Regions from separate parts of the Homo sapiens genome. Here regions 2 and 3 are each linked to region 1. The links are contacts of gene promoters, found by promoter capture Hi-C in blood cells and fetal thymus (Javierre and others, 2016). All regions are on one chromosome and are shown on one strand. The core of a region is centred on a gene start or on the middle of the fragment in contact, and the rest is flanking DNA. Distances in the headings are between cores, read along the strand shown. Region 1 holds the start of MICOS10-DT (MICOS10 divergent transcript). Region 2 has its middle 12 kb from the start of MRTO4. Region 3 overlaps EMC1 (ER membrane protein complex subunit 1).

Region 1 (3,896 bases), core at 886-3,385:
AGGGAAGGGTGGTCATAGAAGTTATCTTGAAGGAAGAGGCTGTCGTAGCAAGATCTGATACAACAGAGTTTTGCTGTCATAGTTGCAAATAAATAGTTGAACGATGCCTGTAATCCCAGCACTTTGGGAGGCCAAGGTGGGTGGATCACTTGAGGCCAGGAGTCAAGACCAGCCTGGCCAATATGGCGAAACCCCATCTCTACTAAAAAAATACAAAAAGTTAGCCAGGCGTGGTGGTGGGCGCCTGTAATCCCAGCTATTTTGGAGGCTGAGGCAGAAGAATTGCTCAAACCCAGTAGGCAGAGGTTGCAGTGAGCCGAGATCGTGCCACTGCACTCCAGCCTGGGCAACAGAGCGCGACTCTCTCTCAATAAATAAATAAACAAATAAATAGGTGAATAAATTCAATTCAGTTCAACAAATATTTCATAGAAGACCCTACTATCCAAGGCATTGTGCTCTGACTGGAAGTATGAAGACGAAGGGGCAACTTCTAGTTCTACTAGCAGATAATATCTACAACCAGATGTTTCAGTACTAGATAGAGAAATCAATGCGGGTAGGCAGGGTAGTGGGACAATGAGAAGGGGAAGGCAGCTCTAAGCTCTATCTGACTAGGCTTCCTAGAATCAGTGCAGTGTTGAAGCTTGGATAGATCCAGTGTATGAATGGGAGTCATTGACAGCTTTTTTTTTTTTTCTTTTGTGATAGGGTATCACTCTGATGCCCAGGCTGGAGTGCAGTGGCATGAACATGGCTCAGTGTAGCCTCCACTTCCCAGGCTCAAGTGATCCTCCTACCTCAGCCTCCTAAGTAGCTGGGACTAAAGGCACACATCACATTAGCCTGGCTAATTTTTTAAATTTTTTGTAGAGACAGGAGTCTCACTATGCTGCCTAGGCTGGTCTTGAACTACTGGCCTCAAACAATCCTCCCGCCTCAGCCTCCCAGAGTGTTGGGATTACAGGTGTGAGCCACTGCTCTCGGCCTTCATTGACAGCTTCTAATCAGAGGCATAACGTGGTCAGATTTCTATTTGTTGGTAGGATGGAAGACTAAAATCAATGACACTAGCCAGTAGGCTGGATATACAATCTCTCTTGATAGCTGTGGGCATTTGGTTTCAGGATCTCGCAGTTACCAAAATGCAGGATGCTCAAGTCCCATATATAAAATGGCGTGGTATTTGCATACAACCTACACACATGCTTACATATCCTTTTTTAAAATTACTTATTTTTTTTTAAAGAGATGAAGTCGAACTCCTAGTCTCAAGCAATCCTCCCATCTCAGCCTCCCAAGTAGCTGGGACTACGGTCGCATGCCACTGCGCTGGCTCCCATATACTTTAAATCATCTCTAGGTTACTTATAATACCTAATACAATGTAAATCCTAGGTAAATAGTTGTACTGTATTTTAAATTTTGCATTATTTTTTATTTGATTCAAAAATGTTTCTGGTCCATGGTTGGTTAAATCCATGGATGCAAAACCCACAGATACAGAGGGCACCCTGTGTATGTATGTGTATGTGTGTGTGTGTGTGGGTGGGTGTGTAAATATATACATGGATAGGAGGCCTGAGGTAGACGTTTTACCTGGAGATATAATTTGGCAGTGTTTGCAATTACTCAGGGAGAGTCTGTACAGTGAAAAGAGAATTGATGGAAGCTTGCGAACCAACAGTCCTTAAACAGCTGGCAGAGAAAAGGCAGCCCTGGAGGAAACCAACAGACAACAGCAGATGGGGAGAAGAGGAAAGAGTGGCGTTACCGGGAGTGAAACGAATAGAGGAGCCAGGGAGGATCAGAGGGAGGGAAAATTGTGTGGAATGCGGTACAGAGGTCAGAAAAGAGTCCATTTGATTTGGCGGTAGGTAATCTTTCCCAGAGCAGTTTCGGTGTTAGTGGTTCAGGCGGGAATTCCAATGCAAGAAACCAGTGAACGAATGAGAGAGTGAGTAGGGAAAGTGAAGGTGAGTACGTTAATGAATGAATAAATCAAGTCTGTACCCTCTCTTGCCCGGGGGATTTCCAGGGCCAATGTCGCACTTTGGTGAGGAGGAAAGGCCTGGTCACGGCTTGGGGTGACGCCTAGGAAACTGTCAGCCTCGCAAACCCATAGGCGCAGCCCCAAGGTCAGGGTCACCTCGAGCCTCCAGACAACTCGTCACCTTGACGACCAACTGAAAAAACCGGAAGGGATGGAAGCAGCGGATCATCTCGCGATATCTGGAGCGTCTGCGCCTGCCTTCCTGACCTGGGACTTGTTTCCAGCTCTCGCGAGACTTTCAGGGGTCGGAGCGCGGGGGCCGGCCGAGAGGAAAGCTGGAGGCGCGGGTGGGGAACATGTCTGAGTCGGAGCTCGGCAGGAAGTGGGACCGGTGTCTGGCGGATGCGGTCGTGAAGATAGGTAAGGGGCTTTTCGCCCCAGCAGGCCCGGCCGGTGCAGAGCTGCTGGCTCCAGGCTGCGCTGCCCAGGAGGAAGGAAGGGAAGCCCCACGGGAGGTCAGGCCTCTCGGCCTTTTCCGGCCCCTCCGGCCAGGGCGAGCCGCCCGGGCCCCGGCGGGAGGTCACTCGGGCGGCGGGCACAGACCCGAGGAGCCGGAGCAGCAGCCCGGGTGCGGGGTGGAGTTGCAGCCCGGAGGAGGTGGTCGGGGTTGGCAGGTGGCAGGAGAGTCGCAGAGCTCTTGAGTGGAAGACAGTGTCGGGGCACACCCTCGTGCCGGAGCCGCGGGGTTCTCCTCCCGGGTGGTGCATTCCCCGGCACGCGGCGGGGAACCGGCTCAGGAGGCCACGCTGCTCCCCGGCGGAAACCAAAGTGCCTTCTGGAGAAGGTCACCTGGAGCATTTCATAGACACCGCCAGGCCCTGATGCGAGTTGCTGTCATTCCCGACTTGCCACCTGATTTATTTGAATCAGAGTAGTCTGGGGCCTGAACTTAGAGGGGTGATGATCTGGAATGAGAATTGCGCTGGAAAGTAAGAAGTTGTTCACGTTAAGTTTTTCTGCGTAGTCCTTTAACACGTGCTCAGTGACGGCACAAATTATGAAGTCACTGTATGGTGGGGAGGAGAAAGGAAACTCGTTTATTGAGCGTATATTGTCTTCATTGTGCGAAATAATCTTTTTACAGGCCGTGAAATGGAGAGTCAGGTGAAGGAATTTGCCCACGGTCACAGCTAACAAATGGCAAAATTAGGGATTTTACCCAGCTTTTCTGGGGTCAAGTCCCATGTTCCTTCTTCGATGCTAATTTTTGTTACCCAAATGTGATATTTTTGTGTGGTAATCTTAGGGTATTTAAGAGGATTTAGGATTGTGTCTTTGAATGAAAACATTGAGGAATAAGATTGTAAGCTCCATGAGAGCAGGGATGTTTTCTGGTTTAGTCACTGCCCCATCCCCAGCCCCTAAAAGAGTGCTTAATAAAAATTGTTGAGAGTGAGTCAATAAATGAAACAGTTTATAAGTTACCATTTCACCTCTGAATTCAGCACTTACAGTCAAGTGATTTGGGGCAAGTTATTTAACTTTTCTGTGCCTGATTCCTATTTGGAAATCGGCAGTAATAATTATTACTATCTCATGGAGTCGTTGGGAGGATTAAATGAGTTAGTTTGTTTAAAGGCTTGAATATGGATCACTTAGGAATGGGTTATTTTGGAAGCGACTAAACAGTCACTTTTGTTTTGTTACTGTTAACAGCTTGCAGTTCAGAGAGAAGACTTAACACCTAGCTATGAAATGACCAAAGTAGTTACTAGGCAATGTCATATAGTTAAGAAAGGGCTTTGAGCTGGGCGAAGTGGCTCAGGCCTGTAATCCCAGCACTTTGGGAGGCCGAGGCGGGAGGATCGCCTGAGATCAGGAGTTGGAGACCAGCCTGGGAAAC
Region 2 (3,926 bases), core at 124-2,623, 330 kb before region 1:
TCGCAGGACAGTCAAGGCCATGCCAGGGGCACTGGTGCTATATACACAATCTGCAGGACCTGCTCCACCAGGGCCATGGCCTTGAAGTGGTGCTTGTTCCAGAAGCTGGGTTGGGGGAGGGTATTGCACGGGGGTCAGTACTAGGGGTCATCTCAGGGCGGTTGCCTGCACCCAGGTCCCTGAAGCACTGAGGGGCTAATGGCTTCTAAGTAGACATCTTACATTTTTGAGCATCAGAATGCATGCATGTTTCTGGGCCCCTCATCCGTGTTCTTGGGTGGCTAGAGGGGAGGCAGTGGGCGAGAATCCTTGCATTTGGCCAGGCGTGATGGCCACACCTGTAATCCAAGCCCTTTGGGAGGCCAAGAAGGGAGGATTGCTTGATGCCGGAAGTTAGAAGTCAGCCAAGATAACGTAGGGAGACCTCCTGTCTCTACAAAAAAAAAAAAAAAAAATTAGCCGGGCGTAGTGATGTGCGCCTCTAGTCTCAGCTGCTCTGGAGGCTGAAGCAGGAAGATCACTTGAGTCTGGGAGGTAGAGGCTACAGGGAGTGGTGATCGAGCCCCTGCACTCCATCCTGAACAACAGAGTGAGACCCCATTTCGAAGAAAAAACCCTAGCATTTAACCTCACCAGGTGTTAAACACCCGCCACCTTAGGACCCCTCAGCACCTACAGCACCACACCTGTGTGCCCTGGGGGACACAAGGACCCATGACAAGTCCTGATCTCCAATCCTGGCTCTGCGGCCTTGGCTGAGCCACCTGCCCTCACCTGCTCAGTGAGGAAGGGAAATGCCCCATGCCAGCCCCATGTGCTAAATGCCAAGTATAAAGGTAGTAAGGGGCCTGGCCAGCTTTGCACACTGTAAAGAACAGATGGGATGAAACCCAGCAGGTCTCGATGCTCCAGGGCTGTAGCCTGGGCCCTGCAGTGTGAAAAGCTTGAGAAAACCTCCGCTTAGGACGGTGGTTCCTGAACATGGCAAGGATTATTAGAAACCCTTGGGGTTTCTGATCATCCTTATCATCCAAATAAGGCTGTAAATCACAGCAGTGCACACAAGGTGAACCCAAATGTTGGACACTGCTGCCTAAGTCCTTGGCCATTTCAACAAAACTAGCACTGGCACCACTTCCATGGAGCTTGGCTTGTTTCTGCCTTCCTCCCAGGGGGAGAAAACAAAAAGAAGTAATAAATCACATTGTGCACAAATATTAACCTTGCAGGTGTGGATTTGGTAAATCTAAGATCAGGAACTTTCCAGCAGCCCACACACGACATCTAAATTTGATATATTAAGGAATAGCGATAAAGTGTGTAGCTTTTTTTTTAATAAGAGATGGTGGTCTTGCTTTAATATCCAGGCCAAACTCCTAAGCTCAAGCAATCCTCCTATCTTGGCCTCCTAAGGCTGGAACTACAGGCCTATGACACCATGCCTGGCTAGTTTTTAAAATTTTTTTGTAGAGACAGTCTCACTGACCTGCCCAGGCTGGTCTCAAACTCCTGGGCTCAAGCGATTCACCTTTGTCTCCCAAAGTGTTGGGATTATAGGTGTGAACCACCACCCCCAGCCAAGTGTATACTTTAGACATAGTGCAGCAGTAACTGCTAGAGAAAAAGAAAGCTGCAAGAATTTCTAGAAGTTGCCTCTGAGGAATGAGACTTGGAAAGTGACAGCTTTTAACCATGGGCACATATCACTTTAATAAATTGTCCAAATTTTAAGAAATAGACTGGGTGTGGTGGCTTCCAGCTTGTATATATAAACTGTCTTCCATCCAACTCTTGGAATCAGAGTAAAGCTTTTGGAAATCCATTTTGTGAGAGAGAAAGCATCTAACTGTTGTGAATGCTATTTCAAATTCAGTTAATAAAGCTCAACATTGAGAATAGAAATTTGTTTCTGCAGTGGACATACACTTACAAATGCCATGGTAAGGACGGTGGCTCACGCCTGCAATCCCAGCACTTTGGGAGGCCGAGGCGGGTGGATCACGAGGTCAGGAGTTCAAGACCAGGCTGGCCAAGATGGTGAAACCCCGTCTCTACTAAAAATATAAAAAATGAGCCAGGTGTGGTGGCAGGCGCCTGTAGTCCCAGCTACTCGGGAGGCTGAGGCAGAGAATTGCTTGAACCCGGGAGGCAGAGGTTGCAGTGAGCCAAGATTGCACCACTGCACTCCAGCCTGGGCAACAGAGCTAGACTCCATCTCAAAAAAAAAAAAAAAAAAAAAAGCCATGGTAAAAACAGCCTTATTAAATTAAAAATCCATGCAGCAGAAATGTACTTGTTCATAAACAATTGTGGAGCCTGGCACTCTTACCTTCCTGTTGCTTCTGAAATGTATTCAGAATGGCCCAATTTGAGACACTGGTGATGCCAACCAACCCAGTCACTGGGAACAAGCAGGTCAGAAATGAAGCAAGTAGGGCAGCCCATGGCAGCCTGAAGTTTCAGGAACTCCCCTCCTCATGAATTCCCATGTGCAAAATCTATGTCACCTCCTTCTCCAGTCTTTTTTTTTTTTTTTTTTCTTTTTTGAGATGGAGTCTTGCTCTGTCGCCCAGGCTGGAGTGCAGTGGCATGATCTCAGCTCACTGCAAGCTCCACCTCCCGGATTTACGCCATCCTCCCGCGTCAGCCTCCCGGGTAGCTGGAACTACAGGCGCCCACCACCATGCCCGGCTAATTTTTTGTATTTTTAGTAGAGACGGGGTTTCACCATGTTAACTAGGATGGTCTTGATCTCCTGACCCCATAATCCGCCCGCCTCGGCCTCCCAAAGTGCTGGGATTACAGGCGTGAGCCACTGCGCCTGGCCCTTCTCCAGTCTTTTATACAGCACAGAGCAGTTTCCTTAGTTTGAGGATGAATAAATATATATTAGACGCTCTCCAGATCCAGCTCTGCTCCTTTAGGTCTTTTTGTTCCTTCTCATTTGTTTTTAAATTAACAAATACGAATTGTATATATATTTAAGGTGCTGTTTGGGAACTGTCTCTTGAAGAAGCTCTTTAGATATAAAATGGCTGAGGGAGGAGGTGGAGTGGGAAAAAAAGAAGAGAAAAAAGATATGAAATGGCTGAATTCAAGTGGACATCAACTATCTTTGAGATATAGTATCCAGAAGATTCTAATAGGTGGGATGTGGCATAGCAGAGAATGCATCCCTGATGGGGATACTCAAGAGTCTCAGCAGCTCCTGGGGCTCATCTCGACTTGACCACTCAGGACCGTTGCTCCCAGTGTTACAGTTTATTTTCCTAAGATAACCACCCCATGCTCTCAAATGCTCTTTGTACAGGTATCTTTGACTCCCCTCCCAGGACACAAGAGTGATGCTATGGACTCCTGAGGCTGGGACATAAAAGGCCACATGGCTTCTGCCTAGATTGCTTGAGATGTGCTCCCTTGGAAGCCACATGCAGAGGCCACATGTGTGCCAGTTAATGACAGCAGCTGATAAGTGAATGTCTTCAGGTGACCCTAGCCTACAGCTGCTAAATCACGCCTCAGACACCGGGGAACAGATGAGGCTTCCCCCACTGAGTTCTACCCAAACAGTGGGTTTGCCACCACCCAGCTAATTTTTGTATATTTTGTCAAGATGGGATTTCACCATGTTGCCCAGGCTGCTCTTGAACTCCTGGATTCAAGCAATCCCCTTGCCTAGGCCTCTCAGAGTTCTGGGATTTCAGGAATGAGACACCGTGCCTGGCCTGTTTTGTTTTTTAAAAACAACAGTATTGAGACATAATTCAGACACTATACAGTTGACTTACTTAAAGTGATGTTTAATGCTGTTTCATGTATTCAGAGTTGTACAACCATCACAATCAATTTCAGAGCATCTTCATAAGCGCCCCCAAAAGAAACCCTGTACTCATTAGCAGTGAATCTCCATTTCCTCGCAATCCTCC
Region 3 (3,821 bases), core at 1,322-3,821, 360 kb before region 1:
CTGAGATAGGAAGATCACTTGAGCCCGGGAGATTGAGGCTGCAGTGAGCTATGATCACGCCACTGTACTCCAGACTGGGCAACAGTGAGACCTTGTCTCAAAAAATAAATAAATAAATAAACAAAAGCTAAGCCTGTCTCCCAGATTTTCTAGAGAGACTCTTCTCGCTGACTCAGGGATTACTACAAGCTCTTGCATAAAAGGAGAAATGGCAGAGCAAGGGGCTGGAATCAATAGGTCAAAGGAGGAAAGTTCTGTATCCCACCGAGAATGCCAAGTTATTCTTCAAAAGCAGGTAACGGGGCCGGGCATAGTGGCTCATGCCTGTAATCCCAGCACTTTGGGAGGCCAAGGCGGGCAGATCACCTGAGGTTAGGAGCTTGAGACCAGCCTGGGCCAACATGGTGAAACCCTGTCTCTTACTAAAAATACAAAATTAGCGCCTATAATCCCAGCTACTCAGGAGGCTGAGGCAGGAGAATCGCTTGAACCAGGAGGCAGAAGTTGCAAAGAGCTGAGATTACACCATTCCACTCCAGCCTGGGCAACAAGAGCAAAACTCTGTCTCAAAAAAGAAAAAAAGAGCCAGGCACGGTGGCTCACACCTGTAATCCCAGCACTTTGGGAGGCCGAGGCAGGTGGATCACCTGAGGTCAGGAGTTTGAGACCAGCCTGACAAACATGGTGAAACCCCATCTCTACTAAAAATACAAAATTAGCCAGGCGTGGTGGTGCATGCCTGTAATCCCAGCTACTTGGGAGGCTGAGGCAGGAGAATCACTTAAACCTGGGAGGCAGAGGTTGCAGTGAGCTGAGATCATGCCACTGTACTCCAGCAGTCTGAGCAACAAGAGCAAAACTCCGTCTCAAAAAAAAAAAAAAAAGCAGGTGACAGGCCAGGCACGGTGGCTCACACCTGTAATCCCAGCACTTTGGGAGGCCGAGGCAGGCGGATCACTTGAGGTCAGGAATTCGAGACCAGCCTGGCCAACATGGGGAAACCCTGTCTCTACTGAAAATACAAAAATTAGCTGGTCGTGGTGGCACACGCCTGTAATCCCAGCTACTCAGGAGGCTGAGGCAGGAGAATCGCTTGAATCCGAAAGGTGGAGATTGCAGTGGGCCGAGATCATGCCACTGCACTCCAGCCTGGGCAAGAGAGCAAGACTCTATCTCAAAAAAAAAAAAAAAAAAAAAAAAGCAGGTGACATTTGGCTATGAACGAAACACTCAGGGCACACTCCACTTGAATCTCTTCCAGAAACCTGCAGCCTCCCAAAAAACAGTCTGATTGGAACACATTGGAAGGCCTGGGGAAATAAAAAAATGGGTTGAATGAGGTCTACTTACCCAACTGCTGCAGGAAAAGTAGCAGATGATCCTCTGTCTGCACCAAAGCCCGGTAGCCCACTGAGTCATCCTTCTTCAAGAACACCTGGATATACAGCTATAAGCCACAGTCAAGACCGGTGTAGTCAGTGAGGATCCAAATGCCTCTGAGAGCACCAGACCCCAGGAGTCAAAGCCTGGACTTAACAGAGGTACAGGCCATGGCATTATTTGATGTCTAAACAATGTAGCTATTATCTGGATGCCAGTAAGTGATACATATTCTTAGGAGCCAACATAATGATGCTGGGGTCTCCCAGACCTTTCCATGGAAGAACCTGAGTACTCCACGGGTACCACGCCATTCATCCATGCTCTAATCACACCCCACAAAGTGAGCAGGAGGCCGGGATTAGACTTTCCGCTTTAGAAACGAAGAAGCCACAGCCCAAGCAGCTGAGGAACACAACCAGATGCACACAGAGGCAATACTGGGTAGTGATGAGGAGTCCAGGCTGTGGGGTTAGACCTGAATCTGAACCGCAGTGACACCTCTTACTGGCTCCGTGACTCTGGCTATGGTACTCGATCCCACCAGGCCACAGAATCATTTTAAAACCAGGTCAGGAACAACCGCTTCATGAGAGTGTTTGGAGGGTTAAATCAATTAATGTGTAAGTTAAAAGCTTAGAACAGTCCCTGGTGCACAATGATGAGCTGGCATAAATAATACCCGCCTTTACTGTGACTTCTAACAAGTCAGTGGCTCAGAGAGCACTAGAACACATGTTTAGAGAGCCTAATCCAAGCCCCATGGCTAAGACCTGGCCCTGAGGAAAGGAAGCCATGTGCTGAGAAGCCCACAGGACAGTCTGCAAAGAAAGGCTCTGCCTTACCCGCTCAGGCCGAGTGCCGCTCTGTTCCAGGCTAAATGTTATCGTGGTGTCCAGCAGCCGCCGACCTGTCTCCACGAGGTATAGGTTAATGGTGTAGGTCTGATTGAAGCAAGCCAGAGAGTCCTAGGAGTACAGACAGCACGTGTCAACTACAGGTATCCCCCGAAAGCAAAGCCCACCAAAGGAAGTCCAAGGATTGGGGGCAAATACCCTAGAGAAGGAGCCAGGCCAGAAGGGGAAATATATGCAAAGGAGAATAAAAGAGAAAAGCAAGCTAAATCCTAAGGCAGAAATAAGGTGCCTGAGTAAATAAATGAAATTACAACTACCATACTTGTCTTGGAAGCCAGTACAGAGTAGCAGAGACTTCTGAGAGAGAGGTAGGGCTGAGCAAGGTAAGACTGAGCAAGACAGGAGGCAGGGAAACGCTTAGATGGAAGCCACAGCAGGAACCTATGCCTCCAGCCAGGGGCTCATGCCTCTGCTACAGGGTAACTGCACAGAGTACTACTCAACTGTGCCAGCCAGGATCCCAAAAGAAATGGGGACGCTGAGGCCCAGAGGAGAAAGTGGCTAGAAACAGACTCTAGGGATTCTACCTCCTAATCTCCCGGTAAAATGAGATTAAGAGAAACATCATTTAATTTACAGTACTTAGGAAACCTCATTTGAAGCTGGGAACTCTAGGACCTGCTCCTAACCAAAGCTCTTCCCCCAACTCTCTTTGGTGGCCTCCTGCGTCTCTAGGTCTGGCATACTGCCCAGTGCCACACCATACCTTTGAACTAGACTTCTCCGAAAAGCTCCCCATTGACCCATCTTCAGAACTGCTACTTTTCTGCTATGAGAAAGAGAAGGACAGGAGAAAATTCAGCCAAAGGGTCACTTCCCAGTCACTGAAATGAAGCTTTTGTTTTTGTCTTCTTAGCACTTGAGAGAAGACAAAGCTCATTTCTCACCCCTGCCCACAAAGCCTATTCAACCCTTAATAGCCCCATATGAAAGTAAGGTCATCACATTAGGGTCTCGTTCCTGGGGAGAAATGGGGTGTGCAGAAAGCTCTATAGTTGAGGCAAGACCTCACTTCTCAACAGCCTCCTGCCCGCTGGGTTCAAACTGACCAGGTCAATGTGCCCAGACTTCTGATTTTCAGGGTTCCTAGTGGAGACCAGGAAGGAAAATCCCAAGTGCTGACTGTTGTTCTCAATACTCACCACTTCATTCCGACAGGCCATGACTGCAGCCACCGTCTTCTCCCCAGTGGTGGCAAAGCTCACTAGGGCAGTCTGGGGGAAAAGCAAGGCATCAGCTCCTAAATGGGACCAGTACTAGCCAGCTGCCTTACAGAGGGTCACCTCTCCAGGGAAGGCCCTTGGCCTTAGAGTTGAAAGTGCTCCCCACTTTGGAGCAGAATGGTCAGGCATTTAAGAGCAGAGGGAGGCCTCAGTTGCATCTACAGCTGAAAACAGAACTCTCCCTACCTCCAACGCAGGCACAGGTCAATCTTAAATCCCATGCTGCTTGTTCTTACTATCTATGGGGAAGCTCTCATTTATGTCCCCATATTTCCTTTGGACTAAGGAAGGCACTAGTTTT

The links. The method cuts DNA at HindIII sites, captures the fragments that hold promoters and counts their contacts. A CHiCAGO score of 5 or more calls a contact.
Region 2: a fragment that was not itself captured here is called in contact with the fragment with the promoter of MICOS10-DT in region 1 in 1 of 17 cell types (naive B cells); the score reaches 5.5 in naive B cells.
Region 3: a fragment that was not itself captured here is called in contact with the fragment with the promoter of MICOS10-DT in region 1 in 2 of 17 cell types (naive CD8 T cells and naive B cells); the score reaches 6.2 in naive CD8 T cells.

The regions. Positions count from the first base shown.
Region 1 is chr1:19,594,697-19,598,592 of GRCh38, forward strand. It overlaps MICOS10-DT (MICOS10 divergent transcript), which reads right to left and starts at 2,136. Exons shown (of 2, transcript NR_135054.1): 1 at 2,014-2,136. MICOS10-NBL1 (MICOS10-NBL1 readthrough) reads left to right here and starts at 2,283. Exons shown (of 4, transcript NM_001204089.2): 1 at 2,283-2,413. It overlaps MICOS10 (mitochondrial contact site and cristae organizing system subunit 10), which reads left to right and starts at 2,283. Exons shown (of 4, transcript NM_001032363.4): 1 at 2,283-2,413. The coding sequence starts at 2,350. RefSeq lists an enhancer at 2,076-2,375 and a silencer at 2,496-2,705. The HindIII fragment of the contact is 2,967 bases long and covers 1,671-3,896 here.
Region 2 is chr1:19,262,203-19,266,128 of GRCh38, forward strand. It overlaps the pseudogene AKR7L. Among named protein-coding and RNA genes, the nearest start is that of MRTO4, 12 kb to the left of the region's middle. The HindIII fragment of the contact is 865 bases long and covers 942-1,806 here.
Region 3 is chr1:19,235,792-19,239,612 of GRCh38, forward strand. EMC1 (ER membrane protein complex subunit 1) reads right to left here. Exons shown (of 23, transcript NM_015047.3): 9 at 3,440-3,511; 10 at 3,004-3,066; 11 at 2,226-2,348; 12 at 1,351-1,447. The region is part of intron 1 of EMC1-AS1 (EMC1 antisense RNA 1); the gene reads left to right. Among named protein-coding and RNA genes, the nearest start is that of EMC1, 14 kb to the right of the region's middle. RefSeq lists a silencer at 1-88. The HindIII fragment of the contact is 1,117 bases long and covers 2,014-3,130 here.